Regions from separate parts of the Homo sapiens genome. Here all the other regions are linked to region 1. Evidence: promoter capture Hi-C in 16 types of primary human blood cells and fetal thymus (Javierre and others, 2016). All regions are on one chromosome and are shown on one strand. The core of a region is centred on a gene start or on the middle of the fragment in contact, and the rest is flanking DNA. Distances in the headings are between cores, read along the strand shown. Region 1 holds the start of FAM3A (FAM3 metabolism regulating signaling molecule A). Region 2 has its middle 23 kb from the start of MECP2. Region 3 overlaps MECP2 (methyl-CpG binding protein 2). Region 4 overlaps MECP2 (methyl-CpG binding protein 2). Region 5 overlaps MECP2 (methyl-CpG binding protein 2). Region 6 has its middle 6.6 kb from the start of MECP2.

Evidence for each region. The method cuts DNA at HindIII sites, captures the fragments that hold promoters and counts their contacts. A CHiCAGO score of 5 or more calls a contact.
Region 2: a contact is called between a fragment that was not itself captured here and the fragment with the promoter of FAM3A in region 1, in 6 of 17 cell types (monocytes, activated CD4 T cells, naive B cells and 3 more). The highest score is 15.3, in monocytes.
Region 3: a contact is called between a fragment that was not itself captured here and the fragment with the promoter of FAM3A in region 1, in 2 of 17 cell types (total CD8 T cells and naive CD4 T cells). The highest score is 5.4, in total CD8 T cells.
Region 4: a fragment that was not itself captured here is called in contact with the fragment with the promoter of FAM3A in region 1 in 8 of 17 cell types (neutrophils, monocytes, non-activated CD4 T cells and 5 more); the score reaches 10.1 in neutrophils.
Region 5: a fragment that was not itself captured here is called in contact with the fragment with the promoter of FAM3A in region 1 in 4 of 17 cell types (monocytes, neutrophils, total CD8 T cells and 1 more); the score reaches 11.1 in monocytes.
Region 6: a contact is called between a fragment that was not itself captured here and the fragment with the promoter of FAM3A in region 1, in 2 of 17 cell types (monocytes and neutrophils). The highest score is 5.5, in monocytes.

What each region holds. Positions count from the first base shown.
Region 1 is chrX:154,514,949-154,517,648 of GRCh38, reverse strand. It overlaps FAM3A (FAM3 metabolism regulating signaling molecule A), which reads left to right and starts at 1,417. Exons shown (of 9, transcript NM_021806.4): 1 at 1,417-1,889. The coding sequence starts at 1,877. It overlaps LOC124905229 (a long non-coding RNA gene), which reads right to left and starts at 2,169. Exons shown (of 2, transcript XR_007068357.1): 1 at 1,934-2,169. RefSeq lists silencers at 771-927, 1,143-1,552 and enhancers at 903-1,525, 1,526-2,149. The HindIII fragment of the contact is 19,151 bases long and covers 1-2,700 here.
Region 2 is chrX:154,119,495-154,122,194 of GRCh38, reverse strand. No RefSeq gene overlaps it. Among named protein-coding and RNA genes, the nearest start is that of MECP2, 23 kb to the right of the region's middle. The HindIII fragment of the contact is 175 bases long and covers 1,347-1,521 here.
Region 3 is chrX:154,083,947-154,086,822 of GRCh38, reverse strand. All of the region lies in intron 1 of MECP2 (methyl-CpG binding protein 2), which reads left to right. Among named protein-coding and RNA genes, the nearest start is that of MECP2, 12 kb to the left of the region's middle. The HindIII fragment of the contact is 4,984 bases long and covers 1-2,876 here.
Region 4 is chrX:154,052,305-154,055,004 of GRCh38, reverse strand. The region is part of intron 1 of MECP2 (methyl-CpG binding protein 2); the gene reads left to right. Among named protein-coding and RNA genes, the nearest start is that of MIR718, 34 kb to the right of the region's middle. The HindIII fragment of the contact is 7,842 bases long and covers 1-2,700 here.
Region 5 is chrX:154,034,306-154,037,278 of GRCh38, reverse strand. The region is part of intron 1 of MECP2 (methyl-CpG binding protein 2); the gene reads left to right. Among named protein-coding and RNA genes, the nearest start is that of MIR718, 16 kb to the right of the region's middle. RefSeq lists an enhancer at 810-1,375. The HindIII fragment of the contact is 6,646 bases long and covers 1-2,973 here.
Region 6 is chrX:154,102,981-154,105,739 of GRCh38, reverse strand. No RefSeq gene overlaps it. Among named protein-coding and RNA genes, the nearest start is that of MECP2, 6.6 kb to the right of the region's middle. The HindIII fragment of the contact is 9,158 bases long and covers 1-2,759 here.

The sequences.
Region 1 (2,700 bases), core at 168-2,667:
CAGCAGGCAGCTGAAAGGGACCTTGACCCTGTTGAGTACTCCAGTATAGAAGCTGCTGGATTCTAACCAGGGCTCTCCCATGCCCGGCTCTATAAACTTTCTCTATATTTTGCATTGTTTCCCTAAGGGTAGGAGATTCCCGTAAGTTGGGTCAAAGGGCAGGGAGGTTTCCGTGGTTCTCATTGGGCCCTGCTGCTGCTCTCCAGACAGATGATGGATCAGCTGTCAGGGTGGCCCCGGCCATGCCAGCGCAGTAGGTGGTCAGGGCGCACTTGGGGCAGCCGGCAGGGCAGAAGGGACGGGAGCTTGACCCGTGTTCTCATGGGCAGAGGGAGCCCGGGCAGTGTTGGGGGCAGCGTGCGGGCAGGCGCGGAGGGGAGATAGCCAGGCAGTCAGGGAGAATTGGGGTGACTGGAGAAAGGCCGAAGGGCCGCGTCTGCCTGCGGCCGGAGACCACCCCAGGTCCATACAGCCAGCTGGGTGCCGGGCACCATTTGGAGCCGCTGGGAAAGCCAAGCACCGCTCTTTCTGGAGCCTTCTTTTTTCCTATTGTTAGGGAATTCACGACGTCACACTTGTTTTCAAGTGAAAATAAGAGTTGTGTAGGACGCGAAAGTCACGTGACTTGAAAGCTGAACCTGAGAGGCCTCAAAATAAATTCTGGTTTGCTGTGAAAGCCTCGGGTTATAGCGCTAAACTCCCCCCTCCACTGCCCCCGAAAGTTGTATTCTCCTCTGCTTTTAGGGTGGGGTGTGGCGTAAACAACACAGCTTGAGCAGCTCTGAGGAGGAGGGTGTTAGAGACCAGGCAGGCGGAGCAGGCAAGAGTTTTCAAGGATGTCGAAATAGTTTGAGACGCCCCGTCCCATTATAAAAGTGATAACGAGAGACAGCAGGAACGCGCTTCTGGACAGAAAACAGACCCTAAGGAAAGGCAGCCAGAGGCTCACGCTGGATCCTGCGGTCTTCCCTATCTGCGCCTCTGTACCTCCCTTGCCTTTACAAAGCGCATGGATCAACTTTGGAACAGGTTCTAATTCTGCCCCAGATCCATCTGCGTCTTCCCACGACTCACAAATCTGACCTCAGGGTGCAAGCGCAGCCCCAGCCCTCTAAGCCTGGGTAGGCAGGGCTCTCCCACCCGAGAAAGGGCCGAGGGGAGACTTCCGGGGCGGGACCGACGTGGGCCCCTCCCACTCGGCGGCCGGTGGGTTCAGCCTGAACGCACTGCGGAGGTGGGGCCGACGAGGGATCCAGGGGCGGGACAGGTTCGGGGCGGGACAGGTTCAGGCCCCTCCCATGCGGCGGCCAGCGCGAGCGGTAGAGGCGGGTCTGGAGGCGGGGCCTGCGTGGAGCCAGACGGCGCAGCTGCTGCCGGGGGCGGGGCCGGCGGGCTGTGGCCCCGCCCTTAGCCGCCATTGCCGGGCCTGCCTGGCCACCCTGCGCAGCGGCCTTGCGTCCTCTCCCGGGGCGGAGCGGGTCGGCGGGCCTGACAGGGAACCTCCCTGACCGAGCCCACGTCTCCCCACGGCCAGAGAAATCTCCGGCCCGGCCCGCATCGCCAGCCCCCAGGCCCGGAGGAACGGCCCGAGCCCAGGAGAACCACATCTTCGTCCCAGCCCCGGAGGCTCCTGTGGGCAAGATCGTGAGCCAACGGGTTCCTGAGGCCCCTCCTGGCCAGGCAGGGTTTCCCCGCGCGTTTCCGAGGAGCCCTGCCTGGCCGGGCGGCTGGACAAACAGGTCGTAGCACCGATCGCGCCCGCCCCCAGCAGGGGTCCCGCACAGGCTTGCCCCTGACCCCCACCCAAACCTGTCCTTCCGCTTTGCCCCCAAACAGTGCACTTGCCGGCGGTCCCAACCCAGCAGGAGAAGTGGACATGAGGTTGGCAGGTGGGTGGCTTCCACAGCGAACGGGAGGGAGTTGAAAAGGGCACCTGGCTGGAGGCCCAGCGTCGCGACATCTGTGTCTGGAGAGGCCCGGGTGAACCACTGGGTTTGGTTTTGGAAATGGAGGACTCTGCACAAACACTCGTTCCTTGACCTTAACCAAATCCTTTCACCTCTGAGGACGTCAGCTCCCCGAGCTATGACATGAGGATTAGTATAGTCAGTATCTCCCAACGCAGGTAGCAGACCAGCTGCTTTTTGGAAAATGAGTGGTGAGAGAGAGGAGGTGGGCAGTCCAGGTGGAGAGGCGTGGTCTTAGAGGGGAAGTGACAAAAGTGGCTGTGGGCTTCGACATGAACCCGATGACAGCCCTACTGTCACCTGGACAAGTAAGATGAAGATCCTTGGGGAGGGATAGGTTGGGGCTGGGTGGAGAGTAGAAACAACTCGGGAATTGGACTTCAGACTTGCTAAGGTGGTAACTTTGTGGACATATCCAGGTGGAGCTGGCCACTGAGGAACCAGCTGGCAGGGAGTGGTTTCAAGAGAGGCCACGGCTGGAACTAGAAAATAGAAAGTCATTGACACATGGTGCTTAATTAAAGAGCTAGGAGTAGATGACATCATCTAAAAACACACTACAGGCCGGGCGCGGTGGCTCACGCCTGTAATCCTAGCACTTTGGGAGGCCGAGGTGGGAGGATCACTTGAAGTCAGGAGTTCGAGACCAGCCTGGCCAACATGGTGAATCCTCATCTCTACTAAAAAAATACAAAAAAATGAGCCTGGCGTGGTGGCGGGTGCCTGTAATCCC
Region 2 (2,700 bases), core at 185-2,684, 400 kb after region 1:
GAGAACACAGGCACGGAACAAGCCCTGATCCCCTTCGGTGACGACTCAGTAGTGTGCACAGCCAGGAAACCACAGAAGACAGGCAGAACCAGTTCTCCAGCTGTAGCTACAAGTTAACTATAAAAAGACCCCTGGGTCCACAGGGCAGGGCTACTCGGCTGGCTCTGGCCCAGGCTCTTGGGCACAATTCTGGCCACAGACGGGAAGCACAGAGAAGATAACCAATGGTGTCACAAACAGGTTTTCCAAGATTTCAATCTGGGAGACAGGACACTTCATCCAGGCTTCCGGTTTCAAAATTGGAAGACAAATGTCCTAAGGGGTCTTGTCAGTTTTGTATACTGGCACACAGCCATGATTTACAGAAACAGGACTTTTGGTCTCTCACCCTGGAAGACAAGAGGAACTAATCAAAATGGGCCAAAGGACCAGAAACTTCCAGTGGACATCACACTTGGACAGATGAGAGCTTAGAAAGCAGCTCAATTGCTGTGACCAAAGTTCGGCTCCCCCCTCAGTGACAGTCCTCCTGGGAAGGAAGGTAAGAGACTCAAGGAGCCTCTGGGGTCCTGCTGGGACTTCCCAGGCCAGGGCTGTGCTCCAGTGGCAGCTATCCTGAGGCCAGGGACATTGAGGGGAACCTCTAAACAATGGAAACAGCCAAAGAGATGATGAGCGTAGGTCCAAGTGCAGCCAGGCAGCCTGAAAAGAGAAAGGGAAGGTGGAGTTCTCAGGGACAGGCTTCAGAGGAAGAGGAGGGTTTAAATGAGTCTCTTCAGTAGGGCCAAAGCAAGTTCATTTCCCAAGGGCTAAAAGTCTGCCATGTTTTTATGAGTTGTTTGGGTTAAACCTGGGTCATGTTGACCTAGATACATCTCCAAGAAACACCAGATATGGGAATCTTAATAAGAAAGAATGAGCAACATGGTTGTGATCTTCCAACAGAAATACAGTGCAAGAGGCCGGGTGCGGTGGCTCACGCTTGTAATCCCAGCACTTTGGGAGGCCGAGGCGGGTGGATCATGAGGTCAGGAGTTCAAGACCAGCTTGGCCAACATGGTGAAACCCTGTCTCTACTAAAAATACAAAAATTAGCCGGGCGTGATGGTGGGCGCCTGTAATCCTAGCTACTTGGGAGGCTGAGGCAGAGAACTGCTTGAACCCAGGAGGCGGAGGTTGCAGTGAGCCAAGATCGCACCACTGCTCTCCAGCCTGGGCGACAGAGCGAGACTCCATCTCCCCTTCCCCCCTCCCCCTAAAAAAGAAATACAGTGCAAGAAAGTCCAGTTTTTTTCTCATAACAATGTTCTGCTTAAGTTTGGAGAAAATATGCATTTTCTTAAGCTTGAAATAAAGTTTGGCTACTTTTGGATGGGGTCTTTGTGTCATTCCTACGTCAGACACCAATCTATACTGTTGCCAGGAGGATGGCGACATGATTGATGGGAAAAGGAAAAACTTCACACAGGTGACTCCTTAGAGCAGGGAGCAAAGCAGTGACGCCTGTCAGAGGCAGAAGCTTCCCTGGCAGGACTAATGACATTTACAGTCCTCATTGAGAGAAACAAGAGAAAAGGCACATGGAAACTATACTATGAATGGAAAATGGCTATAACCACAGATGCAGACAGGATTTTAAAGTAATGGCTATTGTGAATAACTTTGTGCCAATACATTTGAAAATACAGTTGAAATGAACAAAGTCCTAGAAAAAGAAATTACCAGTATTGACTCAAGAAAAAGCAAAGACCCTAAATAGTCATATAATTATAAATTTTTTGTTAGTAATAAAATATCTTCCGTTCAAACCAAACTCTAGGCCTAGATGACTTCATCAGCAAGATCTATCAAATATTCAAGAAGCAATAGTTCTAATTTTACACAAACTCTTTCAGAGAATTAAGAAAAAGAGGCTCCACTCTTGTTAGAAGGCAAACATAACCTTGAAACCAAAACCTGTCAAGGACATTATGAGAAAGAAAATTATAAGCCAACTTCACTTGTAGGCAGAGATTCAGAAATCCCAAACAGAATACTAGCAATATGTAAAAAAGATAATACATGGTGACTGGACTGGGCACGGTGGCTCACGCCTGTAATCCCAGCACTTTGGGAGGCTGAGGCGGGTGGATCACCTGAGGTCAGGAGTTCAAGACCAGCCTGGCCAACATGGCGAAATCCAGTCTCTACTAAAAATACAAAAAATTAGCTGGGCCTGGTGGCGTGCACCTATAATCCCAGCTACTCGGGAGGGTCAGGCAGGAGAATCGTTTGAACCCAGGAGGTGGAGGTTGCAGTGAGCCGAGATTGTGCCACTGCACTCCAGCCTGGGAGACAGAGCGAGATGCTGTCTCAAAAAAAACCAAACAAAAGGAAAAAAAAAGATAATACATGGTGACCAAGATGTGTTTATCTCAGGAGTGCAAAGTTAGTTTAATAATATAAAATCATTTATTGTAATTAACCAAATTAATGTTAAAGAAGAAAAATTACATGATCAGCAGGGCATGGTGGCTCATGTCAGTAAGCCTAGCACTTTGGGAGGCTAAGGCAGGCAGATTGCTTGAACTCAGGAGTTTGAGACCAGCCTGGTTAACATGGTGAAACCTCATCTCTACAAATAATAGACACACACACACACACACACACACACACACACACACACACACACAAATTGCCGGTGGTGGCACATGCCTGTCA
Region 3 (2,876 bases), core at 302-2,801, 430 kb after region 1:
AGCGTGGTGGTGCGTGCCTGTAGTCCCAGCTACTTGGGAAGCTGAGGCAGGAGAATCGCCTGAACCTGGGAGGCAGAGGTTGCAGTGAGCCAAGATCATGCCGTTGCACTCCAGCCTGGACGACAAGAGCGGAACTCCGTCTCAAAAAAAAAAAAAAAAGAGTTATATTGTAAAGTATCTCTGCTACCCTGCCCCAAACATTCATTTCTTTCCCTGGAGGCAGCCACTATTACCTGTTTCTTTAAAAAAAAAAAAAAATTGTGGCCGGGCACGGTGGCTCACGCCTGTAATCCTAGCACTTTGGGAGGTGGAGGTGGGTGGATCATGAGGTCAAGAGATCGAGACCATCTTGGCCAACATGGTAAAACCCCATCTCTACTAAAAATACAAAAAATTAGCCGGGCATGGTGGCGGGCACCTGTAGTCCCAGCTACTCGGGAGGCTGAGGCAGGAGAATCGCTTGAACCTGGGAGGCAGAGGTTGCAGTGAACTGAGATCACGCCGCTGCACTCCAGCCTGGCAACAGAATGAGACTCCATCTCAAAAAAAAAAGCGTGTGTGTACCCGTGTGTTAAATTTTTATTATAAAATATATATAACAGGCTGGGCGTGGTGGCTCACGCCTGTAATCCCAGCACTTTGGGAGGCCGAGGCAGGCTGATCACGAGGTCAGGAGATCGAGACCATCCTGGCGAGCACGGTGAAACCTCGTCTTTACTAAAAATACAAAAAATTAGCCGGGCATGGTGGCGGGCGCCTGTAGTCCCAGCTACTCTGAGAGCCTGAGGCAGGAGAATGGCGTGAACCCAGGAGGCGGAGCTTGCAGTGAGCCGAGATCGCGTCACTGCACTCCAGCCTGGGCGACAGACCGAGACTCCGTCTCAAAAAATATATATCGATATATATAACAATTTACAGTTTTAATCATCTTAACTGTACAGTTCAGTGGCACTGAGTACATTCACATTGTTGTACAGCCATTACTACCATCCATCTCTACAACCTTTCGTCTTGCAAAACTGAAATTTCATACCTATTAAACACTAACTCCCACTTCTCCCCTTTCCCCCACCCCACCCTCTGGCAACTACTATTCTACTCTTTGTCTCTATTGGACATATTTTTGTGTGTTTAGGTTTGTGTATATATTTTACATGTGTGTATAAATACACAAGGGTATGTGGGCGTTGTGTTTTTACACATACTATAAAATATTGTGCACATTTGTTTATTTTAATGTATCCTGTAGATTATTTAGAATCGGTTCATACAGAGCCGTATCATTCCTTTTAAGGGTTGGGTTTAAATAGTCTGTTATGGATGTACCACAATTTATTTAACCAGTTTTTAAATTTTTTACTTATTTTTTTTAATGTTTTTTTAGAGACAGGATCCCACTCCATCACCCAGACTGGAGTGCAACAGCATGATCATAGCTTACTGCAGCCTTGAACTCCGGGGCTGATGTGATCCTCCCACCTCAGGCTCTCTTGTAGCTGGGACTACAGGGATGTGCCGCCATGCCTGGCTAAATTTTTTATTTTTATTTTTATTTTTATTTTTGGTAGACACGGGGTTTCACTGTGTTGCCCAGGCTGGTCTTGAACTCCTTGGGCTTGAGTAATCCTCCTGCCTTGGCCTCCCAAAGTGCCGAGATTACAACCATGAGCCATGGAGCCCGACAAGAGTAGCCTTTTATTTGCAGACCATTAGAGAAAAAGTTGCGTGTAAGTAGATAAGCATACGAATTTATCACTGCAATACTGTTTGTAGAGATCACAGAGCTGTTAGGCTAGGAAGAAGTTTTTAGCAGTTAGCACTAGAAAGCAAAACTTTGGAAACTTCCATTTCATCAAAAGTGACCTCATCTGAGTAGGGCATGTGAGGGAAGGACCTTTTTACTCGACAAGGGGAACTTGCCCAGTTCTTGTTTGTGAACCTTGAAGAAAGTGGAGCATTTTTATTTTGGGACCATTCTAGGTTGTGGTAGTTCCTTGGTACTCGGGGTTGGAGAATCTCCCTCTGCTGCTGGACCTTCTGCCTCCTCATGCTGTAATATGCATAAGAGGTGTCCTAGAAGTATTCAGGAACAGGCTGTGGTTGCTTTGTTGTTCTGTGACTGTTGAACTCTTTATATAGCAGTACTTTTTTAAGCTGTACTAATTGAGCATTTATTATGTGTCAGTTACTGTGCTAGCTGCTGGAAACTATCCTACCCTCAGCAGTCTTCTGGTCTAATGGGAGGTACAGACAGGCAAATGGGCTATGACTTTACAAGAGGCTAACTTCTGTGATGGAGAGAAGTTCCAGCCACTAAGGGAGCACATAAAAATCAGAGGAGATCCTACCAAGAATTGGGAGGTAGGTCAGGGAGGAGACTTCTTTGAAAAATGGCATCTAAGACCTGAACAGCAAGGAAACATTAGCTAGGTCAAGGACAAAGCATCAGTGGGGAGAGATGCATGAGTCTTTTGGAAGGACCAGCATGTGTAGAGGCTCTGACAGGAGAGAATCTCTCAGGCCCATTCAGAGAGTCCACTGTGTGAAGACGAGGCATGAACAACCAGCCAGGACATGTGGAGAGGAGCATTTTTCTTTTTTTCTTTTTTCTTTCTTTTTTTTTTTTTTTTTTTTTGAGACGTCTTTCTCTGTCACCCAGGCTGGAGTGCAATGGCATGATCTCGGCTCACTGCAACCCCCACTTCCAGGGTTCAAGCAATTCTTCTGCCTTAGCCTCCCAAGCAGCTAGGATTACAGGCACCCGCCACCATGCCCGGTTAATTTTTGTATTTTTAGTAGAGACGGAGTTTCACCATGTTGGCCTCAAACTCCTGACCTTAGGTGATCTACCCGTCTCGGCCTCCCAGAGTGCTGGG
Region 4 (2,700 bases), core at 197-2,696, 460 kb after region 1:
TTTTGAGACAGGGTCTCCCTCTGTCACCCAGTCTGGAGTGCAGTGGTGCAATCTCAGCTCACTGCAACCTCCGCCTCCTGGGCTCAAGTGGTCCTCCCACCTCAGCCTCCTGAGTAGCTGGGATTACAGGCTTGCACCAGCGCGCCTGGCTAAGTTTTTGTATTTTTAGTAGAGACAGGGTTTTGCCATGTTGCCCAGACTGGTCTCAAACTCCTGGGCTCAAGCAGTTCACCAGCCTTGGCCTCTAAAAGTGTTGGGATTACAGGTGTGAGCCACCACGCCCGGCCATCCCAGTTTTTTATTTTCCTCCTTTCTGTGTCTTTATGCATCAGTGAGGTGGAGCTTTTGAAAATGTCAGATAGCTAGATTTTTTTTTTTTGAGACGGAGTTTTGCTCTTGTTGCCCAGGCTGGAGTGCAATGGCGTGATCTCGGCTCACTGCAACCTCCACCTCCCAGGTTCAAAACAATTCTCCTGCCGCAGCCTCCTGAGTAGCTGGGACTACAGGCACGTGCCACCACACCCGGCTAATTTTGTATTTTTAGTAGAGATGTGGTTTCACCATGTTGGCCAGGCTGGTCTCAAACTCCTCACCTCAGCTGATCACCCGCCTCAGCCTCCCAAAGTGTTGGAATTACAGACGTGAGCCACCATGCCCAGCTGATAGCTAGATTTTTTTTTTTTTTTTTTTTTTGAGACGGAGTCTTGCTCTGTCGCCCAGGCTGGAGTGCGGTGGCGCGATCTCGGCTCACTGCAAGCTCCGCCCCCCGGGTTCATGCCATTCTCCTGCTTCAGCCTCCAGAGTAGCTGGGACTACAGGTGCCCGCCACCACGCGTGGCTGATTTTTTTTTTTTTTTTTTTTTTGTATTTTTAGTAGAGACGGGGTTTCACCGTGTCAGCCAGGATGGTCTCGATCTCCTGACCTCGTGATCCGCCCGCCTCAGCCTCCCAAAGTGCTGGGATTACAGGCGTGAGCCACCGCACCCGGCCTCGAGATTTTTTAAAAAATCCATTGTCTGTTTCGTCCTTTAACATCTATTTGATTTCTGATGTATTTAGATTCATTTATAGCATATTTGTGCATTCTATTTTTCCATATTTTCTGTTCTTTTAAATTTTCCTTCTCCTTTCTTGCCTTCTCTTAGACTTTTAAAAAAATTGTAGTAAAATACACATCACCTAAAATTTACCATTTTTAAATGTACAGTTCAGTGGCATTAAATACAAATTGGAGGCCAGGCATGGTGGCTCATGCCTGGAATCCCAGCACTTTGAGAGGCTGAGGTGGGAGGATTGCTTGAACCTGGAGGTCGAGGTTGCAGTGAGGTGTGATCACACTACTGCTATAGCCCAGGCAACAGAGTGAGAACCTATCTAAAAAAACAAACAAACAAACAAACAAACAGATTGGCATCACACAGTGTGTGTGCTGCTGTGCTGTGCTGTTATCATTTAACATTAAAACATAAACATCAGCACTGTTATGGACTGAATGTTTGTGTCCCCCAAAATTCCAGTGTTGAAGCTCAAACCTCCAATGTGATGTTATTTGGAGATGGGGTATTTGAGAGGTGGTTAGGTTTAGATGAAATCAGGAGGGAGGGTGGGTTTCGCATGATGAGATTAGTGTCCTTATAACAAGAGACAGCAGAGAGCTTGCTTTCTCCACCATGTGAGTATGCAATGAGAAGGCAGCCATCTCCAAGTCAGAAAGAGAGCCCTCACCAGGGGCTGAATGTGCTGACACCTTGATCTTGGACTTCTAGCCTCCAGAACTGTGAGAAATTTCAGTTGAATAGGCCCCCCAGTCTGTACTATTTTGTTATAGCTTGAGCAGACTAATACACCCATGTTATGAAAAGCTATAAACATCCCTTTAAAGGCCACCTAACGCGTCGTATTACCTCATGCATCTTCTCTGCTGAGCTTTCCAAAAGAGTGGCTTAGGCTGGGCCTGGTGGCTCATGCCTGTAATCCCAGCACTTTGGGAGGCCAAGGCAGGTGGATCACCTGAGGTCAGGAGTTCAAGACCAGCCTGACCAACATGGAGAAATCCCGTCCCTACTAAAAATACAAAATTAGCTGGGCGTGGTGGCGCATGCCTGTAATCCCAGCTACTTGGGAGGCTGAGCCAGGAGAATCACTTGAACCTGGGAGATGGAGGGTGCAGTGAGCCGAGATCGTGCCATTGCATTCCAGCCCGGCCAACAAGAGCGAAACTCCATCTCAAAAAAAAAGAGTGGCTGGCCGGGCGCAGTGGCTCACGCCTGTAATCCCCGCACTGTGGGAGGCCGAGGTGGGTGGATCACGAGGTCAGGAGTTCAAAACCAGCCTGGCCGAGATGGTGAAACCCCGTCTCTACTAAAAATAGAAAAACTAGCCAGGCGCAGTGGCAGGCGCCTGTAATCCCAGCTACTTGGGTGGCTGAGGCAGGAGAATCGCTTGAACCTGGGGGGCGGAGGTTGCAGTGAGCCAAGATGGTGCCACTGCACTCCAGCCTGGGTGACACAGTGAGACCCCGTCTCAAAAAAAAAAAAAAAAAAAAAAAAAGTGGCGTATGTTCCCGGTCTCCACCTCTCATTCGCCAGCCCCTGTGACCAAACCCCTGGGATTAGATCTCCATCGGGTCCCTCCCCTCACCCTAACCTCACATGCAGTGGTTCCTGAGAAGCTGCTGTTTATCTGATCACGGGATCCAGC
Region 5 (2,973 bases), core at 354-2,853, 480 kb after region 1:
CAAGACTCCGTCTCAAAAAAAAAAAAAAAAAAGTTCATTCATTGTACACTTAGAAATAGTTAAAAAGGTAAACTTTGTTTTGTGTGTGTGTGTATATATATATATATATATATATATATATATATATATATATATGTATTTTTTTTTGAGACATATATGTGTCTGGTTTGTTCGCCCAGGCAGGAGTGCAGTGGCATGATCAACGGCTCACTGCAGCCTCAACTTCCTAGGCTCAAGTGATCCTCCTGCCTCAGCCTCCCGAGTAGCTAGGATTACAGGCACACACCACCATGCCCAGCTAATTTTTTTTTTTTTTTTTTTTTTTTGTAGAGACAGGGTTTTGCTATGTTGCCCAGGCTGGTCTCAAACTCCTGAGCTCAAGCGATCCACCTGCCTCACCTCCCAAAGTGCTGGGATTACAAGTGTAAGCCACCACACCTGACCTGTTTTGTATATTTTACCACAATAAAAAGCCTTTAAAACCCCAAGCAGACAGTTCATTTTCATTCAGGCCCAACTCAGAATCTGATCACAGCGGGGTTTCCCCCCTTTCTAGCGAGTAGCTGAAGAACTGTTTTCTCTCCTTGATGGTATAACTGTCTCTGTGGGTGTTGCTCCCCTGCCGCTCCAGTGGTTTTGTTTTTGTTTTTGTTTTTTTGAGACGGAGTCTTGCGATCTCAGCTCACTGCGACCTCTGCCTCCTGGGTTCAGGCGATTCTTCTCCCTCAGCCTTCCATGTAGCTGGGACTTACAGGCACCTGCCACCACGCCCGGCTCATTTTTGTATTTTTAGTAGAGACGGAGTTTCACCATGTTGGCCAGGTTGGGCTCGAACTCCAGACCTCAGGTGATCCACCTGCCTCAGCCTCCCACAGTGCTGGGATTACAGGTGAGAGCCACTGCACCCAGCCGGCCCCTCAGTCTTTTCCTTCTCAATCAGTGGCACCACCATCTTCCCAGGCTTTGGACATGGTCCCTGACTCACCCTTGCCCCTCACCCCCACACTAATCCACCTGCGAGCTCTGTTGCTTCACCACCTAGACCAGCCCCAAATCCTCAACTGCCCCCACCCTGGGCCACACCTGGACCACTGCTAGAGGCCTCTCATGGGCCCTCCCTGTTTTTCTCTTGCACTCCCCGGGCTTTCTGGCACAAGATGCCCCAGAAGCAGAATCACATATCTCTCCTGGGAGCCAATCTAGTGTGTTTACTGCCCCTGGAGTGTTATTGTTGGCCTTAGAATATGTCCCACTACAGGTTTGCAGAGCACTGTAGTCAAAAGTCATTTGAAATAAATCTTTTCTCTGTGGTATATTGTCAATTTGATATAGAATTAAATTTGTTTCTTTTCTTTTTTCTTTTCTTTTTTTTTTTTTTTAAGAGACAGGGTCTTGGCCAGGCGTGGTGTCTCATGCCTGTAATCCCGGCACTTTGGGAAGCCAAGGTGGGTGGATCGCCTGAGGTCAGGAATTCAAGACCAACCTGGCCAGCATGGTGAAACCCCGTCTCTGCTAAAAATACAAAAATTAGCCGGGCGTGATGGCAGGTACCTGTAATCCCAGCTACTCGGGAAGCTGAGGCAGGAGAAGGCTTGAACTCAGGAGTCGGAGGTTGCAGTGAGCCAAGATCACGCCATGGCACTCTAGCAAGACTCTGTCTCAAAAAAAAAAAAAGAGAGAGAGAGAGACAGGGTCTTGCTCTGTCACTCAGGCTGGAGTGCAGTGATGTAGTCATGGCTCACTGCAGCCTCATACTCCTGACCTCAGGTGATCGACCCGCCTCGGCCTCCCAAAGTGCTGGGATCGTAGGCTGAAGCCACCATGCCTGGCCCGAACTCATTTGTTTTTATTTGCATTAAGTGTAATAAGGTTTTGTTACTTTTAGTTTGAATTTTATTTTGGGTAATATAAACATTTACATGATTCAGAAGTCAGAATTACACTGAGGCATGTTCAGCTAGGCCTCACTCCTGTGCCTGTACCCTTACCTTTTTCCCCCTACCCCATGCAGGGAATCAATTTCATTAGTTCCTGGTGTGTCCTTCCTTAATACCCCCCCTTCTTTCTTTGGTAGAATGCAGTAGATATGTTTGCGCTTTGCTCCCTTTGCTTCACAGTGGATCCTGGAAATGACTCCATCGCAGTTCTTAGAGCTCTTGTTTAGTCCCTTTGGATCTGCACAGTACTCCAGTGTGTGGGCGCACCATAAGTTTATTCAGCAAGTGCCCTGGTGATAGGGATCGGGGGTATTGGAAGCCTTTGGCTGGTAAAAATAATGTTGTAGCAAATAACATCATGCATATGTTCTTTGAGATTTCTGGAGGTGTCTCTTTAGCATAGATTTCTAGAAGGCATTCCTTACGTCACGTTTAGGTTTATAGTTTGACCTCATGGTGATTAAGGTATTTGGGAAATGCAAATGAGAGTTTCGAAGAAGCCAGATCTTTCCCATTAGTTCACTGTTTTTCTCTGACATTAGGACCGTCCGGGTTCTAGGGAGCAGCCCTGGCGTTAGGCAGTGCCATGATGGATTGTGTAGAAGTAGCGATTCCCATCTGTCTGCTTTCTTGGCCCACTCTGCTGGTGGCTCCCCTTCCCTCCCTCCTTTATGGGGAGCTGGGGAGCTGCCTAGGGGTCCATTCTCAAAGGCTGATCTCTGGTGGGCAACAGGCCACACCTAGCTTTCCAGGGTTCTTCGTCATTTCCCATTGAGAGCTGTAAGACTCAGAGACATGAAAAGGAAGCTCTGGCTGGGCACGGTGGCTCACGCCTGTAATCCCAGCACTTTGGGAGGCTGAGGCGGGTCGATCACCTGAGGTCAGGAGTTCGAGACCAGCCTGCCCAACATGGTGAAACCCCGTCTCCACTAAACATACAAAAATTAGCCTGGCGTGGTAGCACACGCCTGTGATCCCAGCTACTCCGGAGGCTGAGGCAGGAGAATAACTTGAACCCGGCAGGCGGAGGTTGCGA
Region 6 (2,759 bases), core at 70-2,569, 410 kb after region 1:
TTGAATTCCAAGTTTATATTTTTTCTACAGGTTTATCTTGACTCTTTTTCCTGTTGAAGGCTTTCATCAAATTTCTGATAATATTTACTGACTGGTTTATATTTAATAAGGAAGGACTGGATAAGTATTGTGGATTTAATCTGCTGTTGGGCAAATAGGTCTGTTTTCCTGCTGTGACTCTTCTCTGTGTAGGACAGGGAGGTGACGAACAGAGTATCCCCTAGATGCCGGAATGAGGAAACAATTGTTCAGGGGTTGTCAGCATCCATGCTGGAAGCCTTAGCTCTCCACCGACATTTCAATCAATTTCTTTACAGAACTGTCAGGTGTTTTCCCTGTAGGTCTGTGCCAGCTCCCAGCTCAGCTGTCTGGTGGGGAGAGGAGGTTCCAACTGGTACAGTCATTCTGTACTGGTGCCTTCAATTAATCCCCATGTGTTCAGTCCTATTTAATTCTATCGTTTTCTACCACATGCCTACTGATTCTGATTGTCTGGTGTTATATCTAGCAAACTCACTCCCACTTCTTCTGTGGCTCCCTTGTCAAATATTCTCACCTGGATTTTTACTGCCTATTTTATTCATCAATCAATTCCCATATGCTTTCTATAAAGTTGTTGTCCTTTGATGATAACCTCTCATCCTCACCACATTCTCTTCACTCTGGTGGGTTTATTCCTTTCCTTTTTTTTTTTTTTTCAGACGGAGTCTTGCTCTGTCACCCAGGCTGGAGTGCAATGGCACGATCTCGGCTCACTGCAACCTCTGCCTCCTGGGTTCAAGCGATTCTCCTGCCTCGGCCTCCCAAGTAGCTGGGATTACAGGTGCGTGCCACCAGGCCTGGCTAATTGTTTGTATTTTTAGCAGAGGCAGGGTTTCACCATGTTGGCCAAGCTGGTCTCGAACTCCTGACCTCAAGCAATTCACCCTCCTTGGCTTCCCAAAGTGCTGGGATTACAGGCATGAGCCACCACACCCTGCCTCCTTTCTGTTTCTTGACATTCTTCTTTTAGTGCACTTCTATGAGTAAAGAAGGAAAACTGTGTGTGTGTGTGTGTGTCTGTGTCTGTGTGTCTGTGTGTGTGTCTGTGTGTCTGTGTATGTGACTGTGTGTGTGTGTCTGTGTGTCTGGGTGTGTGTGTGTTCATGCACATCTGTGCCTGCTCATGGTGTCTTATATCAGAATTTATTCATTTCTTATCTATTTTCTAACAAATATGGTTAAGGCTATTAATTTTTCTAGGTGACCTCTGTAGCCTTATCTCCTAGGTTTTAATATGTAGGGCTCTCAATGTTGGTCATTTCTTTTGTTTTTAGAGACAGGGGCTTGCTCTTTCTCCCAGGCTGGAGTGCAGTGGCATGATCCCACCTCAGCCTGTTGAGTAGCTAGGACTACAGGTGCGCACGTGCCCAGCTAATTTATTTCATTTTTGGGAAAAACGGGGTCTCACTTTGTTGCCCAGGCTGATCTCGAACTCCTGGGCTCAAGCGATCCTCCTGCCTTGGCCTCCCAAAGTGCTGGGATTACAGGCATGAGCCAGCGCCCCTGGCCTGGATTAGCTCTTCTGAAATATATATATTCTCTATCAGTTTAAGAGATTTTTAGACAAATGGAGTAAAAGTTTGTGTTGTTTGTCATATTGATAAAATCCTTCTGGTTGTGGGCTTTCTGTCAATTACCATCTATACTAGATTTTCCTGGTTTTTATCTTCTACAGTCCTGTTTTTAAGAGGACCTTAAACTATTACAGTCCCATTTTTTAAATTACTGATTTTTAATTCTAATAGTAAATAATTTTGATTATAGTATATTTTTCTTTTTTTTCTTTTTTTTGAGATGGAGTCTTGCTCTGTTACCCGGGCTGGAGTGCAGTGGCACGATCTCGGCTCACTGCAAGCTCCGCCTCCTGGGTTCACCCCATTCTCCTGCCTCATCCTCCCAAGTAGCTGGGACTACAGGCGCCCACCACCACACCCGGCTAATTTTTTGTATTTTTAGTAGAGACGGGGTTTCACCTTGTTAGCCAGAATGGTCTCGATCTCCTGACCTCGTGATCTGCCCGCCTCGGCCTCTCAAAGTGCTGGGATTACAGACGTGAGCCACCATGCCCAGCCGATTATAGTATATTTTTCTACTTTTCAATGGCAAGTGTGAAACTGTATAACTTAAGTTCCTTCTATTCAACCTAAGGAATTTAGCAAGATTCTCTTCATTATTTTTTAATATTTCAAAAACTTCTTGAGTTCTAGTCTTGTACATTATTCTTTCCAATCTAGATTTAAGTTGTTATAGCCCATGAAACTTCTTGACTTTTGATTGAGCAAAGAATTTCCAGAGTTATTGATGAAGAATTAACATTTCTATAATGTTAATGCTTCCCCTCCAGGAATACGGTAGCGTCTGTTTTTGTTTTTGTTTTCTTCAGGTCTTCTTTTAGATTTTTCAGTAAAGTTTTATAGCTTTTTGATGCAGGTTTTGACATTTCTTATTAAGTTTATTCCCAGCTGTTTTATAATTTTTGTAGTGAGAGTGAGTTGAATCTTTTTTCCCTCATTACATTTTCCAGCTTTTTATTACTGGTCGTGTTTACATGCCTGCATCCTAACACCGGGGAACTGACTTGAAATGGGCCTTTCTCCCCGCAGAGACGCACCAAGAATGAGGTTTAAAAGAGAATGGAAGAAGGATGTATGTGGGGCTTTTTATTTTTGTTTTTTAATTGACACATATTTAGGGAGTACAATTTGATATTTCAATAT